3 separate regions of the Homo sapiens genome follow, and regions 2 and 3 are each linked to region 1. The links are contacts of gene promoters, found by promoter capture Hi-C in human tissues and cell types (Jung and others, 2019). All regions are on one chromosome and are shown on one strand. Each heading gives the region's core, a stretch centred on a gene start or on the middle of the fragment in contact. The rest is flanking DNA. Distances are from core to core; before and after follow the strand shown. Region 1 holds the start of LINGO3 (leucine rich repeat and Ig domain containing 3). Region 2 overlaps DOT1L (DOT1 like histone lysine methyltransferase). Region 3 overlaps TMPRSS9 (transmembrane serine protease 9).

Region 1 (4,144 bases), core at 1,395-3,894:
CGGCCCTTCCAATCCGCCTCCTCTATTCTGAGCAGGGCTCTTCCCCTCCCTCTTGCAAGGTTACCTCAAACACATCCCCCTCCAGTCCCCGCCCAGGGCAAGGGATGCTGACATCTCCCTTGGGAAAGGCCCTCCTAGAGGCCGGCCAAACCCAGAGGGGGCAGGAGTGAGAAGTGTGGTAGCGGTCCCCTCTGTTTCCAGGCCCACAGTGACCTCCATCTCCCTCCCTCTGCCCCCCACCACAACCAGGGCGGTGGGAGTAAGGGGAGTGTGCTCTGGATGCCCCGTTTGAGCTTCTAAGACGGATATGGGAGGAGGGGGCCCAGCCCCTCACAGCACGTGGCCCTCCAAGGTCTGCTTTTGGGGACACGCTGCCAGTCCCCCAGGACCCCTGCATCCTCTGCCCTAGATCCAGGCCCTCCCGGGGCTTCATCCATGACAATTCATTAAGCCCTAATTAGCTTCCATCTGCTGTTAGTCCCCGTCAACCCCTCGAGGGGCTGGGGGCCTCCCGACCCACTTTCCTTCCCAGCCTGTACACGGGGGGCCGTGGACTGCCCTCTGCAGGCAGGGCCTCTGGATCTGGAACCAGTTTTGGAGCACCCACTGTCTACACCGGCCACTTCACCCACTAGCCCAGCCCTGACTAGGGGGAATAATAAAGTTCGTTTTGGAGAGAAGGAGACTGAGGGTCAGAGTGGGCCCCAGCTCACTGCACAACTTAGCTGCAGACAGTCAGCATTTGAACCTGGATCTGACGCCAGCTCCTACCCACAAAATCCCAGCTCCCCACTAGAGGGTGAAGGGCGCTCTTTGGAGGCCCGAGATTGACATGTGGTGGTGGGCGGCTTGATGGGGCCCACCCGGGGCCAACTTTGCTCGCAGAGTTCTTCAAGAGGCTCTACCTGGTGACGAGGTAGTGACTCAGGGGGCGCCGGGGAATGACAGTGCTGTGGGAAGAGACATCAAACTGCCTTCTATTCCCACTCAGCAAGGCACCTTCAGGTCCCGGCTTACCCTGGGGGTGGACGGCTGAGGCTGAGGGAGGCCAGGCAGGGCTGCTGCCGTAACCATCGTGACCTGAGCATCTGTTTTATGGTGGCACCACACTGCAGCCGAGGTGGGCAGCATCTCATTTAATCCCATGTGGGGTGGATCTGAGAGAGGGGACGTCATTTGCCGGAAGTCACCGGTGAAGACCAGACAGGCAGGGCAGGGAAGGCTGAGTTGAACCCTCCTAAGCCCCCATCCCACCGCCCGGCTGCCCCCTTCCTGCCACCCCACATCATCGAGATGGGGACAGGAGCTGGGTCTACAGGGGAAGCCCGTGGGTTCTTCCCACTCAGATCCTGTCTCCGACGATGGCTGCTGCTTCGGCTCAGAGAACAGCCAGGGTAAGGCCATGCCGCGGCAGCCCACCCCACACCAGCCTCCTGATAAAGCCAGCACCACCCTCCCTGAACCTGTTTCCAGCCTGCGTCCTCCACCTGACCACTCACACCTCACACCTTCTGCATCCTCTCCAGGCCACTTCCAGGGAGCCCTCCTGGGTTGCTCTGGTTCTCACAGCTCTGTTGTCCCTGAAGGCTCCCCCCAGCCAAGCCCCAGATCGTCCCTCTGCAAATACCACTGCACAGCAGACGCCCGCTCCCCACCCCCGCCGGAGCAAGGGTGTCTGCAGCCTCGCTGCGTCCATGGTTTAGCCAGGGACCGCTTGCTAAAATGCAGCTTCTGGGGCACATCGCCTCAGAAGTTCTGACTCCTCAGAACTGGGGGGGCCGGGACACCGGCACCGTTAGCGCCCCAAGCACACGTTGAGAAACCCAGTTACATGGTGGTCTCCAGCGTAAGGACCCGGGGCTTTTCTTGTGCCCGGACCAAGGCACGAGGTGCTGCTCCCCTAAACTTGTTGAATGGGACTCAGGGCCTCCCCTGGCCAGGCCCCAGAGGCCCGGGAGGTGGCGGCACCCACTCAGGGTGCCCAGGCCCACCATTTCTGGTGCTATTCAGACGCCCCCAGAGCAGGGGGACTCAGCCCTATGCCCCCAGGTCCCTCCCCGCCAGGCCGGGCCGTCAGCTCCAGCGATGGAGCAGGCTCCGGTGTGGACCCCAGATACCCTTTGCGTCTTCCAGCTCCGCACCCCCAGGCTGGACCAGACCCGGCTCGGGGGAGACAGGGCAGGAAGGCGCGGGCTGCAGGCTCTATTCGGACGTTCCCCACACCCCAGACCCAACCAGTGCCCCCTTCATCTCCTCCTGGAGAGGAGCGCATCCTCCCAGCGTCCCCAGTGCCCCGGGGAGATGCCCACCCGATTCCCCGCTCCTTGGCGCCCCAGAGGAGGGGCGGGGGGCCCCAGGGTGGGGAGTTCGCCCCCAAAGTTTCCAGGGGGAGCGTCGGGGGCCTGGCAAGGAGCGATGAGCCCGGGAGGGGTGCGCGGGGCAATTTCCCCCGGCTGAGGATGGGGTCGCGGGTTGGGGGCTTTGGGCGGCAGGGTCGCAGGGTGCAGGTGAGGGGTCCCCAGGTCTGCGGGCGCGCCCCACGCCGGGCCCCGGCACGGCCACTCACCTGGGCGGCTCCGCCGCGGACACGGCGCGGGCTGCGGCGCGGGGGCCGCCCGGAGCCGACACGAGCAGCCGCCGCCGCCGCCGCCGCCGCCGCCGCCGCCTCCCGGGCTCCGCCGTGCGCGCCGCCGCCGCGCGCAACCGCCCGCCGGTCTCCTCGGCGCGCCTGGCGGGGGCGCGCGGGGGCTGCGCTGGGCCGCGTGCGCGGCGGCTGGGGCCGCAGGTGTGAGAGGCCACGTGGGCGCAGGTGCGGGGACACTGGGAGCGCGGGTGCAGAACCCCTCCGTGCGCATCCCGGGCGCTTCGTGTCCGAGGACCTCCTGTCCCCACGGCCTGGGTGAGCCTGCGGAGACGGCCGTGCCGTGCAATAAACGCAGGGGCACCCCAAGTGCAGCAGGTTGTTCCGTGTGGAACCTTCTGGAAGCTACCATCGCCTCCTCTGCCCCCCGTCCCCCACCCCTAGTCCAGGCCGCCACCATCTGCACCTGGACATCTGCCACAGCCCAGCCCAGGCCCATTCCTTATGTGGCCCTCAGAGGAAGCCCCTCAGAGGAAGCTTAGCCACTGGGCTCCAGAACCTGCCGTGATTCCCTATTGCCGTGAGGGTCCCGTCTGCACCCCACCTACCCTGGAATTTCTCTTTCTTTCGTTCTTTCTTTCTTTCTTTCTTTCTTTTTTTTTTTGAGATGGAGTCTTGCTCTGTTGCCCAGGCTGGAGTACAGCGGTGCCATCTTGGCTCACTGCAACCTCCGCCTCCTGGGTTCAAGCGATTCTCCTGCCTCAGCCTCCCAAGTAGCTGGGATTACAGGCACCCGCCACCACGCCCGGCTAATTTTTGTATTTTTATTAGAGACGGATTTTCAGCATGTTGGCCAGGCTGGTCTCAAACCCCTGACCTCGGGTGATCCACCCACCTCGGCCTCCCAAAGTGCTGGGATGACAGGTGTGAGCCACCGCCCGGCTGCCTGCACTGTTTGGTCTGCCGCACCACCTCCTTCCCCCTGGCCTGTCCTCACTCACTCTTTCCCGGGCTCCACCCCCTCAGCCTTCCTCAAACAGGCCAAGTCCCTCCAGTCCCAGGCCTTTGATCTTCGCTGTGCCCAGCTTGGACAGCCTTTCTCTCTGTCCCTCCATCGAGCAGCTTGGAGCCTCTCAGTTTGTCTAATGGGCTTGTTCCCCAATGTGCCTTCCGCCTAGCACACAGCAGCGCACACACCAAGTGCACTGCGAGTGCTCATGGAAAGTTTTTTACCTTTTTTTTTGTCTTTTTTTTTTTTTTTTTTTTTTGAAATGGAGTTTTGCTCTCGTCACCCATTCTGGAGTGCAGTGGTGCAATCTTGGCTCACTGCAACTTCCACCTCCCGGGTTCAGGCGATTCTCCTGTCTCAGTCTCCCAAGTAGCTGGGATTACAGGCGCCCATGACCATGCCTGGCTAATTTTTGTATTTTTAGGGGAGATAGAGTTTCACCATGTTGGCCAGGCTGGTCTCGAACTCCTGACCTCAGGTGATCCACCCGCCTCGGCCTCCCAAAGTGCTGGGATGACAGACGTGAGCTACTATGCCCGGCCCCTCACTGCATC
Region 2 (4,294 bases), core at 1,193-3,692, 96 kb before region 1:
ACCCTCGGTGCAGAGTGCAGCTCCTGGGCCCCCGCGCCCTGCACGCGCTGCACCGTCGGAGGCAGGGCTGTCCCCTCCTCTCCCACCTTAAAGCAGCGGTGGGAAAGCCTGGCTTGGGGAGCCACAGTGGCCGCCCTGCCCGCTGGCGCTTCTGCAGCCTCAGACCTGCCTGCTTATTTGCCACCAAAGCTGAGAGGATGTTTGTCCGGGCGTCCTTTCCTTTTGGAGGGGGTCAGACAAGACCAGCATGCGGAGAACCCCGTACAGGAAGGGCTCTGTCACTGCCTGGATTTGTAGCCAGGGCTGGGCTCCAACCCGGCCTCAGAGCCTGGTACCCCTCGGGGGCCCTCTGTCCTTCCCACCATGCTTAGGGGGATGTGGGTCTTCCCTGGAGAGCAGGGAACGGCCCGAGGTGGCCGGCGCACCCTGTGTTCCCCTTCCCGTGGGTCGCGCCCTCCACTAACTCACATCAGAGAACTTGTGCATGGCGTCCCATGTGTGGGCCTCGGTGCCTTTCGAAGAGAGGAGAGAGGGCAGGGGAGGCTGTGGGCTGTGGCTTCTAGGTCCTGCTGCCTGAGGGGCTTCTCGTCTCCTGTCTTGGATGTGGTTCTTTTTCTCTGTGGCTCACAGTCTGGCTTCTTACTGACAGGCATCTGTGATTGTGGGAGTGGCTGTGAATGCCGTTATCCGTGCCCACGGGTCACGTCCTGGCCTGCGGGGCCCCAAGCAGCCCACTGCTGTCTCTGGGCCTCAGTTTCCTGATTTGTGCCACAGAGGACTTGCAGTGGACAGAGTTGGGCCCGTGGCCCCCTTGAGTCTGAGCTCCGCGTGCCTCTCGGTGCAGGAGGGCCGTGGGCAGCGCTGGGGCTTCCTGTGGCTCAACCTGCTCTCCTTCCAGGAGGAACAGGAGGCAGCCCGGCGCCGCCAGCAGCGCGAGAGCAAGAGCAACGCGGCCACGCCCACTAAGGGCCCAGAGGGCAAGGTGGCCGGCCCCGCCGACGCCCCCATGGTAAGGCCCCAGCCTGGCTCCTGCTGCTGGAGGGCACCCGCCCCCTGCCCGGGAGACCCCATGGGTGGGAGGCTCTGTGCCCATCCCTGTTCTTCCCTTGTGTCCTCCAGGACTCTGGTGCTGAGGAAGAGAAGGCGGGAGCAGCCACCGTGAAGAAGCCGTCTCCCTCCAAAGCCCGCAAGAAGAAGCTAAACAAGAAGGGGAGGAAGATGGCTGGCCGCAAGCGCGGGCGCCCCAAGAAGATGAACACTGCGAACCCCGAGCGGAAGCCCAAGAAGAACCAAACTGCACTGGATGCCCTGCACGCTCAGACCGTGTCTCAGACGGCGGCCTCCTCACCCCAGGGTGAGCCGCCCCCACGCCACGGCCCCCGCTCTCCCCGAGTGCGGATGCCTGGGGTCCCCTCTGCTGGGACGCTGCCCTCCTGAGCCCCGTGTGTTCAGGGTGTCCCTGGAGCCTCCCTGTTGTGGCTGTGCCTTCAGGGTGGCCCCATCCTAAGGGGTTGCTGGGCACCTGCCCCATGCTGACGCCTCTGCCCACCGCTCTCCCGACCCGCCCTGTGCTGACGCCTGCCCTCCGCTCTCCCAGATGCCTACAGATCCCCTCACAGCCCGTTCTACCAGCTACCTCCGAGCGTGCAGCGGCACTCCCCCAACCCGCTGCTGGTGGCGCCCACCCCGCCCGCGCTGCAGAAGCTTCTAGGTGAGCCCGTGTGAGGCGTCCGGCGAAGGGTTCTGGGCTTGGGGTCATCCCAGGAGGACCGTGGGTTGTGACGCTGACCTCGCAGCAGCCCCCGTGACCTCCATGCTGGACCCCACTGAAGTTTACCCAGGGTTGGGGTCTGCCTGCTGCAGGGGTCAGTAGAGGCTCAGATGCAGCCTGTGGGTTGTCTGAGGTCTTACCCAGGAGATGCTGGGTGACACTTGGGACGTCTGCAGTTGTCATAACTTAGGGATGTTGCTGGCATGGGGTGGGTGCAGGCCAGGGATGCTGCTCAGGGCCTTGCAGTGCCCAGGATGGCCCCACGCGGTGAACACTTGGCTGCGCAGGGGTCAGAGGGCCTGAGTGCTCTGCGAGCTTGGGGCGTGTGGCATGGGCCCCGCCAGGCTCTGCTGAGCTCCTGCCTCATGAGTGCCTGACACCTGCCGAGGCCTGGGACTCGTTCTCAAGGGCTGCTCCCACCTCTTCCCTCTCAGTCTCAGCTGCTCTCTTCTCACCTGTGTTCCGCCTCTCTTCCCAGAGTCCTTCAAGATCCAGTACCTGCAGTTCCTGGCATACACAAAGACCCCCCAGTACAAGGCCAGCCTGCAGGAGCTGCTGGGCCAGGAGAAGGTGGGTCCTGGCCCCCTTGGCATTCCGCCTTCCCGCACAGAGGCAGTTCGTTCCTGTTCCTGGGCATCTGTCCCCTGTGGCAGAGGCCCTGGAGCGCAGGCCTGAGTGGGCTCCCTCCTCTGCTCACCTGCTGCGAGAAACAAACCTACCCGTTTAAACCCAAAGAATGGACTGAGAGACCCGGAAAACAGCGAAAATGAGACTTTTAATCATGGTTTTGCAAGACCTGGTGTCTGATAGGCACACCCAGCACAGTTTGAACAAGCAACCTTCCCCCTAGTGCACAGGTCCCTCCCCCGGTTCCTCAAAGGCTGAGTACTGTGAGGTCACAGTCTTCCCAGTTGTCGCCTATTGGTTCGGCAGGGGCTGGAGTGCAGTGGTGTGATCTCGGCTCACTGCAAACTCCGCCTCCCGGGTTCACGCCATTCTCCTGCCTCAGCCTCCCAAGTAGCTGGGACTACAGGCACCCACCACCACATCCGGCTAATTTTTTGTATTTTTAGTAGAGACGGGGTCTCACTGTGTTGGCCAGGATGGTCTTGATCTCCTAATCTCGTGATCCTCCCGCCTCGGACTCCCAAAGTGCTGGGATTACAGGCATGAGCCACCACGCCCGGTTGTAGGTGTTTTCTTTAGGGTTGTCCTGCTGCATTTTGTGCATTGCAATCCCAGTCAGCTCAGGGACTGTTCAAGTATTTGACTTATGATCTAAGTAGCTGGGCAGGCTGATTAAGAACAGACAAAGCCAGCTCTTTTGCAGGCTGGTAAACCTTCATCTTAGGCTAAACTTCTTTGGTTCGGGTGAGGGCAACTAAGCCGGGGGAAGCGGGGGCAGGGGAGGCTGACAAGCAGGCATCAGCGATCCAAGCAGGGGCCTAGTACATGCTGTCTCTTCTGTAGTTTGCTGACCTAAGCCAATTCAAGGCAGTTTGTCCTGGAAATGGACCACTGTATACATGATTTCCTTCACCTGAGGTCCCGGCTGTGGGGCCCCGCCCTGGGAGTCTCCGAGGACCTGCTTTAGTGGGGAGCTAGGGCCGGGCTATGGGGTGGAAGTTCTGGCGGCCCAGAGATAACTCCAAAAGCCATTGGAGCCACAAGGTCGGCTGTCCCTGAGCCCTGGTTTGCATTTTGGACTTTGGCTTTGCTTTTAAAAAAAAGCTTACAGCGTGCTTTGAGCATATATGCACATGCATTGCTCACTGTGTAGCTGACAGCATGCCTGGGCCGGGGCCCTGTTCTCTGCTGGTGTCTGAAGGTTGTCCTGTGTCAGTGGCTCCTGGGGTCTTCCCTTGGAGGTGGGCCTCCGGACACTGAGTGTTTGCTGTTACGCTGCAGAAGGCTTCCTTGCAGATCCATGTGAAAAGTCCATCCCCTGGTATTGCCTTGGGATAAACTCCTTGGCATTGGCCGGCCTCTGCGTGGCTGGGGGCGCTGCCCTGGCTGAGTCCAGGTGGGGTGGCAGGTGCAGTCCCTCCAGCTGGCGAGAGTTCTTTGCAGTGAACCTGATGCAGAGCTGGTCCCCTCCCGCCGTGGCCTGAGTATTTCTTGACATCTCAGCCCGGTGTGGGTCCCCTCAGGCATGTCTGTCCTTGAGCGTGTCTTCAGGAAGCATGAGAGGCAGGGCGTGGGCCCTCCCTGTGGGCCCTCAGTCACCTGCCCTGGCCCTTAGTCACCTGCCCTGTTTGTCCTACAGGAGAAGAACGCCCAGCTCCTGGGTGCGGCTCAGCAGCTCCTCAGCCACTGCCAGGCCCAGAAGGAGGAGATCAGGAGGCTGTTTCAGCAAAAATTGGATGAGGTAGTGGACCCCAGAGGGCAGGTGGCAGGTGGCAGCTGGGGCGCAGGCTGGGGTGGTCCATGTCCGTCGGTATGGCTTCCTGTGGCTTCCTGTCTATGCCTCTGTCCAGCTGTGTCCCAGGGGCTGGGCTGCAGGGGTGGTCATGCCTGGGGGCT
Region 3 (4,190 bases), core at 1,554-4,053, 110 kb after region 1:
CCTGACTTCAATCCCTCCTCTGCCCTCCATGGCTCCCTGCTCCCTTCCAGTGGGCCCCAGGTGCGTGCCACAGAGCCTGGGGTCCCTGAGTAATCTCCCTGGCTATGATGGGGTCCCTGTGTAAATCCCCCCCAGCTGCCCTCCAAACCGGGACTTGTGTGGGGACACAGACACTGTTCCCAGCACTGGGCCTGATACAACGTGGCACCCAAGAAACACCTCTTGTATGAATGATGCCAGCACATACCCTGGGCATCAGATTCTCTCCGTCTGTATGGGAAGGGTTGGTCTATGGGAACCCCGTGGACTTTTGCCCCTGGGTGGTCAGCTGGGCCATGAGTGAGCTGCAGGCTCAACTCAAGAAGGTTCCAGGGCTGGGCACGGTGGCTCACGCCTGTAATCCCAGCACTATGCGAGGCCAAGGCGGGTGGATCACTTGAGGTCAGGAGTTTGAGACCAGCCTGAGCAACATGGCGAAACCTTGTCTCTACTAAAAATACAAAAATTAGCCTGGCGTGGTGGCAGGTGCCTGTAATCCCAGCTCCTCGGGTGGCTGAGGCAGGAGAATCATCTGAACCTGGGAGCTGGAGGTTGCAGTGAGCTGAGATCACGCCATTGCACTCCAGCCTGGGCGACAAAGCAAGACTCTGTCTCAAAAAAAAAAAAAAAAAAAAAAAAAAAAAAAAAAGAGAAAATCAGGGGTCATCCAAAGCTGCTTCTGCTGTATACCTGGAACCTTCTTTTTCTTCTTCTTCTTTTTTTTTTTTTTTGAGATGGAGTCTCACTCTGTCACCCAGGCTGGAGTGCAGTGGTGTGATCTCAGCTCACTGCAACCTCCGCCTCCCAGGTTCAAGCGAGTCTCCTGCCTCAGCCTCCAGAGTAGCTGTGATTATAGGCATGCGCCACCACACCTAGCTAATTTTTGTATTTTTAATTAAGACACTGTCTCGCTCTGTCACCCAGGCTGGAGTGCAGTGGCACCATCTTGGCTCACCTCCCAGTTTCAAGTGGTTCTCATGCCTCAGCCTCCCGAGTAGCTGGAATAACAGGTGCCCACCACCACGCCTGGATAATTTTTATACTTTTAGTAAAGACAGGGTTTCGCCATGTTGGCCAGGCTGGTCTCGAAATCCTGGCTTCAGGTGATCTGCCCACCTTGTCCTCCCAAAGTGCTAGGATTACAGGTGTGAGCCACCAGGCCCGGCCGACAATTATAATTTTTGTTTTCAAGGTGTCTCATTCTTTCTTCTTTCAGCCACCTGGTCTTGTTTGCAGTGTCCTGTTCTTGTTTCGTGGATACCATTTCTTTCTTTTTCTCTGAGGATCGTAATTTAATCCGTTATGTTTCTTCTATATTCTATATTTGTGGTTAACTGTATTTCAGGCAAACGTAAGTTATTCTGTTGTAACTGAGTGTCTTTATTTCATGGAGATTGGAATCCCTCAACTGGTGCTTAAGAATGAAAAGCTGGGTGCAGTGGCTCACACCTGTAATCCCAGTACTTTGGGAGGCTGAGGCAGCCAGGTCGCTTGAGGCCAGGAGTTTGAGACCAGTTAGGGCAACATAGCAAAACTTTTGTCTCTACAAAAACAAAAACAAAAACAAAAATTAGCTGGGTTTGGTGGTGCATGCCTGTAGTCCCAGCTACTTGAGAGGCTGAGGTGGGAGGATTATTTGAGCCCAGGAGGTGGAGGTTGCAGTAAGCCAAGATCACGCCACTGTACTCTAGCCTGAGTGACAGAGTGAGACGCCGTCTCAAACAAAATTGAAAATTTAAAAATGTCGCTCAATTCTTGCCGTGATCTTATATTTGCTATTCACTTTCTCTTGGCGAGGGACATTAACAGTTTGTGTTCTTGGATTCTATGTACCCTTTCAAGGGACCAAAGACCTCCTGGTCTCATTTATCCTTTGTGGTTGCCCAAATCCCTTTTCTACCCCAACCAACCCAGGTCCTCTTGAGAAAGCTTTCTCTTGTGTCTTGAGCTTCTGCACATGGGCTGGGCTGCCACTTCCTCTGTCAGCCTCTCGTGAGTCTTCATGGTTTCTGGTCCACAACCAGGGATCTCTCCTGCCTAATTTTTTTAGCATGGCTGTGGATTCCTGTCTTTCTTGTGCATACCTTTGCTCTTGTTTCTAAGGCCTGGTGGGTGAGGAAAAGATGGGAGAGACTGCTACATGTGCTTAGATTGCCATATTGAAACCAGAATCTGGAGAAAATGCTAGGAACTAATGAGAGGGCTCATGTTTAAGAATGTAAGAGTCGGCCAGGCACGGTGGCTCACGCCTGTCATCCCAGCACTTTGGGAGGCTGAGGTGGGCAGATCACTTAAGGTCAGGAGTTCAAGACCAGCCTGGCCAACATGGTGAAACCCCGTCTCTACTAAAAATACAAGAAATTAGCCGGGCGTGGTGATGCGTGCCTATAATCACAGCTACTTGGGAGGCTGAGGCAGGAGAATTGCTTGAACCTGGGAGGAGGAGGTTGCAGTGAGCCGAGATCACGCCATTGCACTCCAGCCTGGGCAACAGAGCAAAACTCTATCTCAAAAACAAAAACAAACAAAAAAACGATACACAGAACGTAAGGGTCAGGGTGAACTGGATATGGGAAGGTAAAAAATGGTGAGGCCGGACGAGTGACAGCAGATGAGCACTTTGGGAGCAATGCTGCAGCTACCAGTGAGATATATGGAGGCACCCGCGTGGCAGCCATACTGCCAGCCTAAGCAAGTGGTGACATTATCAAAGATCTACTGAGTTAAGAAGAGGAGGGGATGTTATTTATTTGGGTCACGTTTTGGCCTGCCAGAGGTAGGACTGAAAGACATCTTAGAGATCCTATAGTCCAACTGTCTTGGGTTTTGTTTTTTTTCCTCCACAGAAGAGGAAACAGGTTCTGAGATGTCAATGATCAGCCCCAGGTGCTCTGTGAGCTTGTGTGGAGAGAGGTCCTGGCTGTCCCAGCTCAGAGCTCCTTCTTGGGCCTCGTAGCACTGGTGTCTGGACTGGCTGCTGCCGACCCATCCTGAGGGTGTGTGTTGGTTTCCTAGGGTGACTCAGGAGGACCCCTGGTCTGCGAGGAGCCCTCTGGCCGGTTCTTTCTGGCTGGCATCGTGAGCTGGGGAATCGGGTGTGCGGAAGCCCGGCGTCCAGGGGTCTATGCCCGAGTCACCAGGCTACGTGACTGGATCCTGGAGGCCACCACCAAAGCCAGCATGCCTCTGGCCCCCACCATGGCTCCTGCCCCTGCCGCCCCCAGCACAGCCTGGCCCACCAGTCCTGAGAGCCCTGTGGTCAGCACCCCCACCAAATCGATGCAGGCCCTCAGTACCGTGCCTCTTGACTGGGTCACCGTTCCTAAGCTACAAGGTATTTTCGGGGCAGAAAGGTAGAAGATGATGTACGTGCCTATCTTGATTTAGGGAGAACGGATATCGTCATAGTATCTTCATAATTTTGGATCTTCCTGTTCAAGGAAAGGTCACATGTGTATCCGTTTATTCCCATCTTACGTTGCGTGTACCCTCATGGTATCTTTCTGTCCACAGGTCTTGCCCATGTCTTGTTAACTATGGCGATCTATCAATGGGATACTTTTTTTTTTTTTTGAGACGCAGTCTTGCTCCGTCGCCCAGGCTGGAGTGCAGTGGCGTGATCTCGGCTCACTGCAACCTCCGCCTCCCAGGTTCAAGTGATTCTCCTGCCTCAGCCTCCTGAACAGCCGGGATTACAGGCACAGGCCACCACACCCGGCTAATTTTTGTATTTTTAGTAGAGACGGGGTTTCCCCATGTTGGTCAGGCTGGCCTCGAACTCCTGACTTCATCATCTGCCCACCTCAGCCTCCCAAAATGCTGGGATGACAGGTGTGAGCCACCATGCCCGGTCTGGAATACTTTCTATTGTATTTTCAAATAGTTTGTACCCAGACAACTTGTAGGACTGGCAGGGTGCGGTGGCTCGTGCCTGTCATCGCACACTTTGGGAGGCAGAGGTGGGCAGATCGCTTGAGGTCAGGAGTTCAAGACCAGCCTGGCCAACATGGCAAAACCCCATCTATACTAAAAATTAGCTGGGCATGGTGGAGGGCACCTGTAATCCCAGCTACTTGGGAGGCTGAGGCAGGAGAATCGCTTGAACCCAGGAAGCGGAGGTTGCAGTGAGCTGATACGGTGACATGGTGCCA

What was found. The method cuts DNA at HindIII sites, captures the fragments that hold promoters and counts their contacts. A contact is called where the count stands out against the background at its distance.
Region 2: a contact is called between a fragment that was not itself captured here and the fragment with the promoter of LINGO3 in region 1, in 4 of the 25 tissues and cell types used here (bladder, dorsolateral prefrontal cortex, spleen and 1 more).
Region 3: a contact is called between a fragment that was not itself captured here and the fragment with the promoter of LINGO3 in region 1, in 6 of the 25 tissues and cell types used here (IMR-90 fibroblasts, dorsolateral prefrontal cortex, liver and 3 more).

What each region holds. Positions count from the first base shown.
Region 1 is chr19:2,305,510-2,309,653 of GRCh38, forward strand. LINGO3 (leucine rich repeat and Ig domain containing 3) reads right to left here and starts at 2,645. Exons shown (of 2, transcript NM_001101391.3): 1 at 2,567-2,645. The HindIII fragment of the contact is 18,961 bases long and covers 1-4,144 here.
Region 2 is chr19:2,209,502-2,213,795 of GRCh38, forward strand. DOT1L (DOT1 like histone lysine methyltransferase) reads left to right here. Exons shown (of 28, transcript NM_032482.3): 13 at 899-1,009; 14 at 1,120-1,354; 15 at 1,598-1,711; 16 at 2,250-2,341; 17 at 4,038-4,139. DOT1L-AS1 (DOT1L antisense RNA 1) reads right to left here. Exons shown (of 2, transcript XR_007067087.1): 2 at 2,527-4,294. Among named protein-coding and RNA genes, the nearest start is that of DOT1L-AS1, 3.9 kb to the right of the region's middle. The HindIII fragment of the contact is 3,245 bases long and covers 821-4,065 here.
Region 3 is chr19:2,410,646-2,414,835 of GRCh38, forward strand. It overlaps TMPRSS9 (transmembrane serine protease 9), which reads left to right. Exons shown (of 19, transcript NM_001395513.1): 11 at 3,055-3,373. Among named protein-coding and RNA genes, the nearest start is that of TIMM13, 15 kb to the right of the region's middle. The HindIII fragment of the contact is 6,937 bases long and covers 1-4,190 here.